Linked DNA regions of Homo sapiens: regions 1 and 3 are each linked to region 2. The links are contacts of gene promoters, found by promoter capture Hi-C in human tissues and cell types (Jung and others, 2019). All regions are on one chromosome and are shown on one strand. Each heading gives the region's core, a stretch centred on a gene start or on the middle of the fragment in contact. The rest is flanking DNA. Distances are from core to core; before and after follow the strand shown.

Region 1 (2,700 bases), core at 175-2,674, 130 kb after region 2:
GGTATTGTGCCATTGTGACCAAAGTAGGAACTTGTGTTTTTAGTGGTGTGCTTGATTGAAGTTATTCTTACTTTGGCCTCTTTCTTGTAGGTAGAGAGGAATTTGGTGGTTTTTTTTTTTTTTTTGAGACAAAGTCCCAAAATGACACGGCCATTTTTATTTTTGAGACAGGGTCTCACTCACATTGACCAGGTTGGAGGGCAATGGCATGACCTCGGCTCACTGCAGTCTCTGCACCCCCTGCAACCTCTGCCTCCCGGGTTCTTGTGCCTCAGCTTCCCAAGTAGCTGAGACTACCGGTGCACGCCACCATACCTGGCTAATTTTTGTATTTTCAGTAGAGACGGGGTTTCGCCATGTTGGCCAGGCTGGTGTTGAACTCCTGGCCTCAAGTGATCTGCCTGCCTCAGCCTCCCAAAGTGCTGGGATTACAGGTGTGAGCCACCGCGCCCAGCCAGGAGATTTTGTTAGCTAGTGTTTGGCTTTTCTCCACTATCACTGCACTTTCCTCCAGGATCTTTGTTAACCCTTTGCTTCCCACTGGTTATACAGGTGCTGCAGCAGAGAACATGTTAGGCAGTTTGCTGTGCCTCCCAGGTTCAGGGTCAGTGCTTCTTGACCCCTGCACTGGTTCTACCATATCAGAGACAACAAGTGAAGCTTGGAGTGTAGAGGTATTGCCAAGTGACTCAGGTTAGTATGCTGTCATTGTTTGCTTTTTCATTTATACAGAAGTTTTAATTAAATGCAAGGTATCCCAACTCTGTATTATGTATATTTTGTCAAATACACTTTTTTTTTTTTTTTAATGGAGATGGAGTCTTGCTCTTTTACCCAGGCTGGAGTGCTGTGGCGCGATCCCAACTTACTGCAACCTCTGCCTCCTGGGTTCAAGCAGTCTTCTCGCCTCAGCCTCCTGAGTAGCTGGGATTACAGACATGCCCCACCATGCCGGGTAATTTTTGTATTTTTAGAGAAACAGGGTTTCACCATGTTGGCCAGGCTGGTCTTGAACTACTGACCTCAGGTGATCTGCCCACCTTGGCCTCCCGAAGTGCTGGAATTACAGGCATGAGCCATCATGCCCAGCCAGTTATACATTTGACAAAGATGAGGTGATCACATTGCTAAGAATGTCAAATGGAAAATTAGTTTAGGGCATTTTCTGTCCATTAAGGGAAAATGCTCTGTTAGATAGCATAGACTGTGATGGCAGGTGCTTTCAGACTCTGTGTTGAGTTATTTTGAAAGCAATTTTCTGTGATTATCAGAGTCCGTGTGAATCATTGAATTTAGTATCTTCCACAAACTCATGACAGGATAAGAGTAGCAACACAGTTCAAACTGAGTGCTTGCTTGGTAAACACATTTAGATTTATCACAGGGGAGAACTTGACTCTCTAAAACATGCTTAATGTGTTTTTGAAATACGTTGAAATTGAGATTCTGTAATCCTGAGGATTTTTTTTTTGTGCAGGTTATTATAAATGTATATAAAGTGTTTTGTACTTTGTCTTTTCATATGCATTGCATTTTTTTCTGATTATGAAGACGCATCTTTGCTTTCAACTAAATGTCAACTACCAGAATGTAAATATAAGTAACTGTGTATCTGCATTACATTCTGTTGATTTACTTGGTTCAAGAATTATTAAGTGATCCTGATATGTGTTTTATAATTTTTTTTTTTTTTGAGATGGAGTCTCACTCTGTCACCCAGGCTGGAGTGCAGTGGTGCAATCACGGCTCAGTGCAATCTCTGCCTCCTGGGTTCAAGTGATTCTTTTGCCTCAGCCTCCCAAGTAGCTGGGATTACAGGCACCTGCCACCACGCCTAGCTAGTTTTTGTATTTTTAGTAGAGATGGGATTTCACCGTGTTGGGCATGCTGGTCTCGAACTCCTGACCTCAGGTGATCTGCCGGCCTCGACCTCCCAAAGTGCTGGGATTACAGGTGTGAGCTACCACGGCTGGCCTGTTTTATAATGTTAAAGCATTCAGATATGCTAGCCTTGTTTGAAGACCAGTTGGGGACAATAGGATTAGCTTACCAGCTGTTGAGTATTCATAGGAGTTACTTTTTAGGAAGTGGTTGATTTAATACCAGGCTATTCCATACTCTCTTGTCCAGTTCACATGTTAATCAATAGCATACTCTGTGACATTAGTGATCTAGAACCACGTTTTCATCTGTGCACAGTGAACTGGCTTATATTGGGATGAAAATCACAACTTTGACTTAACACTTAATCTAACTAGCATTAACTAGTCCAGACTTACACATGTATTTGCACTGATTTTATTCATGCCCTGGTAGCTTTGTTTATCTGGGTCACAAAAGCTGAAATTGTGGTGTGCTAAGAGAATCACAAATGTAACATACCTCTTATCTTCTATTTAGAGGCCCCAGACCTAAAGCAGGAGGAGCGTCTGCAAGAACTGGAGAGCTGTTCTGGACTGGGTAGCACATCTGATGATACGGATGTCAGGGAGGTCAGTTCCCGCCCCAGCACACCAGGCCTCAGTGTTGTGTCCGGTATGTCTGTCTTGTTTTAAGGAGTAGGGATTTGAAGGTGTTCACCCCCTACCCCCTCCTATTTATAAAGTTGATACAAAAAGATATGTTATATTTAAGAGCTGAGTAATTTCCAGAAAACAAACTTATTTCCATTGCACCTGAAATCTTTGAGAACTTAATGTG
Region 2 (2,700 bases), core at 79-2,578:
ACTGCAACCTCCGCCTCCCAGATTCAAGCAATTTTCCTGCCTCAGCCTCCTGAGTAGCAGGGATTACAGGCGCCCACCACCACGCCTAGCTAATTTTTGTGTTTTTAGTTGGGGGGGGGGGCGGGGGCGTTCACCATGTAGGCCAGGCTGGTCTCGAACTCCTGACCTCGTGATCCGCCCGCCTCGGCCTCCCAAAGTGCTGGACTTATAGGCGTGAGCCACCGCGCCCAGCCTATGATAGAAATCTTATTAGCTCCATGGTTACAAACAGACAACCCTGAGGCCTGGAGGAAAGTAACTTCAGAACAGATACTCTCCTGGCTGAACTTTATATTTATTGCACTCTTGGCAGTCGTCCCTAGTTGTCTTTTTCTTTGATCTCTCTCTAGTTAAGACTTGCTCCTGGAGGCAAAGCGTGGTGGTGTCTGGCTCAGCATAGCACCTGCCATAATTACAAATGGCAATTATGGAATGAATCAGCTGTTTAAAGCACCAAATCTTGAGCTGGCCCGAAGACTGCGCAGGAGGATTGCATGCTCAACTCTCCCCTTTAGAAACTGTTAACAATCGTTGTGGCCGGGCGCGGTGGCTCACGCCTGTAATCCCAGCACTTTGGGAGGCCGAGGCGGGTGGATCATGAGGTCAGGAGATCGAGACCATCCTGGCTAACAAGGTGAAACCCCGTCTCTACTAAAAATACAAAAAAAATTAGCCGGGCGCGGTGGCGGGCGCCTGTAGTCCCAGCTACTCGGGAGGCTGAGGCAGGAGAATGGCGTGAACCCGGGAAGCGGAGCTTGCAGTGAGCCGAGATTGCGCCACTGCAGTCCGCAGTCCCGCCTGGGCGACAGAGCGAGACTCCGTCTCAAAAAAAAAAAAAAAAAACAATCGTTGTAACTGGAAATGTAACTGTTATACCCTCCCCCCCTTTTATTTATTTATTTTTTTGAGAGGGAGTTTTTGCGCTGTTGCCCAAGCTGGAGTGTGGTGGCGCCCAGCCCTGTTAGCCCCTTACAGAGTAGATCAGCTGCCGCAGGCATCTGAGTTCCCCAAACGGACGCCCGAACCCGGCATTGCGCAAATCGTTTCCAAGTAGCCCCGGCTTATTTATCCCGTCCGGGAGGGAGGGACCCAGGGAAGGCCCACCCCACTTGGTTCCCGAGAAATGCAGAGCCTGGCGTCCACTCCCGGTCTGGGGGACCCCTCCACCGCCAGCCCAGGAAGTCAGCGCCGGGCCCTCGGGGCGGAGCAGGGAAGAGGGAGCGGTTGGCCCGGACGCTCTTCCGGGTCCTGGGAGGAGGGCCCGGACCTAAGCCCCGCCCCTCCGGGGTGGAGTCACGGCTCGCGACTGGCCTAAGTCGCCGCAGGTATTGCAGTCCGGGGCTGGAGGGTAGGGGCGAGGGTCCCCGGATACCGGGTCTATCACGGTCTCGGGCAGGGAGTCTGAATCTTTTAGGGGAGTGGGCCCAAGCCGGGTGCAAAGAACGGGGAAGGGCCTTCCCTGGCTCCGTCCCGGCCACTTTGACCGAATCAGCCTGTTCTTTCCCGACCCCGTCTCCTATCCCCTAGAACTGCCACGTGGGGATGAGATTTGCTGGGCTGGTAGCGGCGGCTGCTGCGGGAGGTCCCGCCCACGTGAAGCCAGCCTAACTGAGCTCTGGACTTTGGGGACAGCTGTCAGTGGCCTAGGCCGCAGGTGAGATTTATCCATTCATCTCTCAATCTATTTTCTTTCTTCATTCACTAGCCACTCCCCCACTTCTACTCCATGCCAGGTCCATTGGTAGGTTCTCGGAATGGATCTGACAGGCCCAGCCCTCTAGGAACTTAGTCTAGTGGAATTTAATCTAGAATCTAGTCTAGAAGCCTTAAATAGATAAACATTCCAAATGATTCCTGCAATGGTGATGGCTAATACCTTCAGAGCCCAGTGGGTGGAAGAAGGAAGTAACTTGGATGTGGGTGGAAGAGAAAAGGGCAAATCAGGGAAGGTTTCACCAGGGAAGGGACTTTTGAACTGGGCTTTGAAGGTTAACTAGGAGTTTGCAAATTTCCCAGAAGGGAAGCGACATTCCAAATAGGGGAAGCAGAACAGGCTGCAAAATTATGAAAAGGCCTGCCATATTACAAGAACAGCAAAAAAACCAATAATGCAAGAGATTGTGGAGGTGAGTTCACGGGAAAAAAGCTCAACAGCAGAAGGCCTTACTTTCTATGCTATGTTGAGGCCAAGATTTATCCCAGAGCTCAGTATTTCTCAGCTTCTTTAAATATTTTGTCCTTTGAGCGGAGAGCAGTGGCTCACACCTGTAATCCCAGCTTTTTAGGAGGCTGAGGTGGAAGAATTGCCTGAGGCTAGGAGTTCGAGACCAGCCTGGACAACAAAGCGAAACCTCCATTTCTATTTTTTTTTCTTTTTTTGAGGAGGAGTCTTGCTCTGTCGCCAGGCTGGAGTGCAAGTGGCGCAATTTCGGCTCACTGCAACCTCCGCCTCTTGGGTTCAAGCAATTCTCACGCCTCAGCCTCCTGAGTAGCTGGGACTACAGGCGTGGGCCACAACGCCCAGCTAATTTTTTTTGTATTTTTAGTAAAGACAGGGTTTCACCATGTTGGCCAGGATGGTATCGATCTGACCTCATGATCCGCCTGCCTCGGCCTCCCAAAGTGCTGGGATTACAGGCGTGAGCCACTGCTCCCAGCCCC
Region 3 (2,700 bases), core at 182-2,681, 140 kb before region 2:
AAGGTGAGGCAATGGTATGAGTACACTTCAGTATAAAAGGGATATAAAATCACACACACACATATACATACACACACACGTACACACACAGACGTATATTAAAACTATATTGAAACTATCTCCACTTGTAATAAATTTCATAAAGCTGCCATGTAAAAACAGAAAACAACAGTAAGTTGTCAGACAGTATGTACAATACAAACCTAAATTTTAAAAACTGATTTGTGTTTACACACAGACAGAAATTCCTGGAACAACAGGAAAATTTGGTCCTGGTGTAGGATGTAAAAATAGGCAGACAAAATATAGTCACTGAAATAATGTGATACAATTGGTGAAATAATGAATTTTAATAGATGGACTGAAGAACAGAAAGGATACAGTTGAACAAATAAATAAGCTAAAATATCAGATTTGGGGTACTCTGCCAAAAGACAGTAGAAAGAGATTAAATATATAAAAGAAAAAGCAAGAGATAAGATAGAGAAATGAGGGAAATCAACTGCCACACAATAGCTTACACAGGAGGAGAGAAAAACACAAATGAGAGTGAAGAAATATTTGCAGAAATAATGACTAAATTTCCCAGAATTAGAGAAAATGTAACACCTAAAATTGAAAGGACTCAAAGAATGTCAAAATAATCCCACAGCTAGAACCATTAAAGTAAAACTTAGGAAATCAGAATTCTCTTCCCTTCCTGAAAAATTCACTCTTATAGCCACCAAGTGGGTATCCACATCACAGGGTACCTGCATGGTTGTCGGAATATAAGCTACGTGAGGAGGCCATTCGCAGGCAGAGCCAGCTTGCACAGGATGTTGAAGGCCGAGTGTGGAGGAGGAGGAGGGCACCCATGAGGGTGGAGGACTGGCAGGGAAAGTAGGAGCCTGAGCACCTCCACATAGAAGGGTTCAAAGCAGCAATGGGAGATTTGCTATATAAAGAGGGAAGGATCAAATAAGATCTATTAAGGGCAGATGCAGTGGCTCACGCCTGTAATCCCAGCACTTTGGGAGGCAGAAGCAGGAGGATCACTTGAGGCTAGGAGTTTGAGACCTGCCTGGGCAATACAGTGAGATCTTGTCTCTACAAAAAATGTAAAAATTAGCCAGATGTGGTGGCAGGTGCCTACTCAGCTACCTCAGATACTCAGGAGGCTGAGGCAGGAGAGTCGACTGAGGCCAGCAGTTCAAGGGTGCAGAGAGCTATGATCCCTCCACTGCACTTCAGCCTGAGTGACAGAATGAGACCCCATTTCTTTAAAAAAAAAAAATTCTTTTTTAAAAAAGATTTATTAAAGGCAATGGGACCCAGAGTTCTCACTTGGCAGAGAAGGGAGATGCAAATATGGAAATGGAAGAAGTTAGAATGAACTCTGTGGATTGAAACTGGGCCAGGTACAGTGGCTCATGCCTGTAATCCCAGCACTCTGGGAGGCCAAGGTGGGTGGATCATTTGAGGTCAGGAGTTTGAGACCAGCCTGGGCAACATGGTGAAACCCATCTCCACCAAAAAATACAAAAATTAGCCCAGCATGGTGGGGTGTGCCTGCAGTCCCCAGCTACTAGGAAGGCTGAGGCAGGAGAATCACGTGAACCCGGGAGGCGGAGGTTGAGGTGAGCTGAGATCATGCCACTGTACTTCAGCCTGGGCGACAGAACGAGACTGCGTTTCAAAAAAAATAAACTGTAAGTATGAGTGAACTCATGGATTTCTGAAGACATGGACATACATGCATGGTGTGTGTGTCTACATAAGCACACACAGATGCATACTCCCTAGCTCTGTAATTCTATCTACTGAGAGCGCCTTGGAGCAGTGATCATCTTCCCTCCCCAGTGGTATGAACGTTTCTAGCACCTAACACTTGGCCCCTAATACCATTCTCCAATAAAAGGAACCAGACATCTCTGGAGAATTGTAATTCACTAATTACAGCACAGGGGTAGAAAAAGTACAGGATCAATCTGGAATATCTTGTGGTAGTAAGCAAGAAAGTGCTCAAGGAATGCTAAAGAATGTCAAAAAGACATAGGATCAAGCTTGAAGGAGATCCCACTGGCCAAACAGGGTAATTTCAGCATCAATACCAATAGTAATAGCAATGGATTATAACCTACTGAACAAAATAAGAAATCATGAATCAATATAGATATAAATAAATGAGTGAATAAATGGAAAGTGTGGTAGTGAATGGGATAGTTTCAGAATACTTCCCCCATAAACTACACATTACTTCCAAGGGAAAAAGTAATTTCACAGCAGTAAAATCCAGCAGACACTGCCTTGATCAAATGATCAAAGTGAACATCATTAGTAATCAGACAAATCAAAGTCCCATGCGATGAGAAGTACTGTTCCTGTCAAAGTTCTGTAGCCTGAGTCTAATCATGAGGAAACAGACAAAACCAAGTTGGGGGACATTCTACAAAATAACCAACCTGTAATCTTCAAAAATGTCAAGTACTTTCCTTCAAAGACAAGGGAAAACTGAGGTATAATGCCTGATTCTCCCCTGGATCCTTCTGCTGTAAAGGATGTTATTGAGACAACTGGTAAGGCCTGAATGGGGTCTAAGGACTAGACAGGAGTAAATTTCAATGTTAATAAGAAAAATGTTCAACCACCAATGATGAATTGGTGAACAAAATACAAACACAGTAAAATACAGTAACAAAATACAAACCTAATGCAGCA

What was found. Contacts are between HindIII fragments. The study calls those that stand out against the background at their distance.
Region 1: a fragment that was not itself captured here is called in contact with the fragment with the promoter of RABEPK in region 2 in 1 of the 25 tissues and cell types used here (IMR-90 fibroblasts).
Region 3: a fragment that was not itself captured here is called in contact with the fragment with the promoter of RABEPK in region 2 in 2 of the 25 tissues and cell types used here (adrenal gland and dorsolateral prefrontal cortex).

Annotation. Positions count from the first base shown.
Region 1 is chr9:125,329,526-125,332,225 of GRCh38, forward strand. GAPVD1 (GTPase activating protein and VPS9 domains 1) reads left to right here. Exons shown (of 28, transcript NM_001282680.3): 13 at 553-693; 14 at 2,401-2,535. Among named protein-coding and RNA genes, the nearest start is that of GAPVD1, 69 kb to the left of the region's middle. The HindIII fragment of the contact is 9,933 bases long and covers 1-2,700 here.
Region 2 is chr9:125,199,214-125,201,913 of GRCh38, forward strand. RABEPK (Rab9 effector protein with kelch motifs) reads left to right here and starts at 1,329. Exons shown (of 8, transcript NM_005833.4): 1 at 1,329-1,693. LOC105376271 (a long non-coding RNA gene) reads right to left here and starts at 1,183. Exons shown (of 2, transcript NR_135145.1): 1 at 1,013-1,183; 2 at 320-442. RefSeq lists a silencer at 1,207-1,256. The HindIII fragment of the contact is 10,811 bases long and covers 1-2,700 here.
Region 3 is chr9:125,056,838-125,059,537 of GRCh38, forward strand. The region is part of intron 2 of SCAI (suppressor of cancer cell invasion); the gene reads right to left. Among named protein-coding and RNA genes, the nearest start is that of SCAI, 85 kb to the right of the region's middle. The HindIII fragment of the contact is 7,319 bases long and covers 1-2,700 here.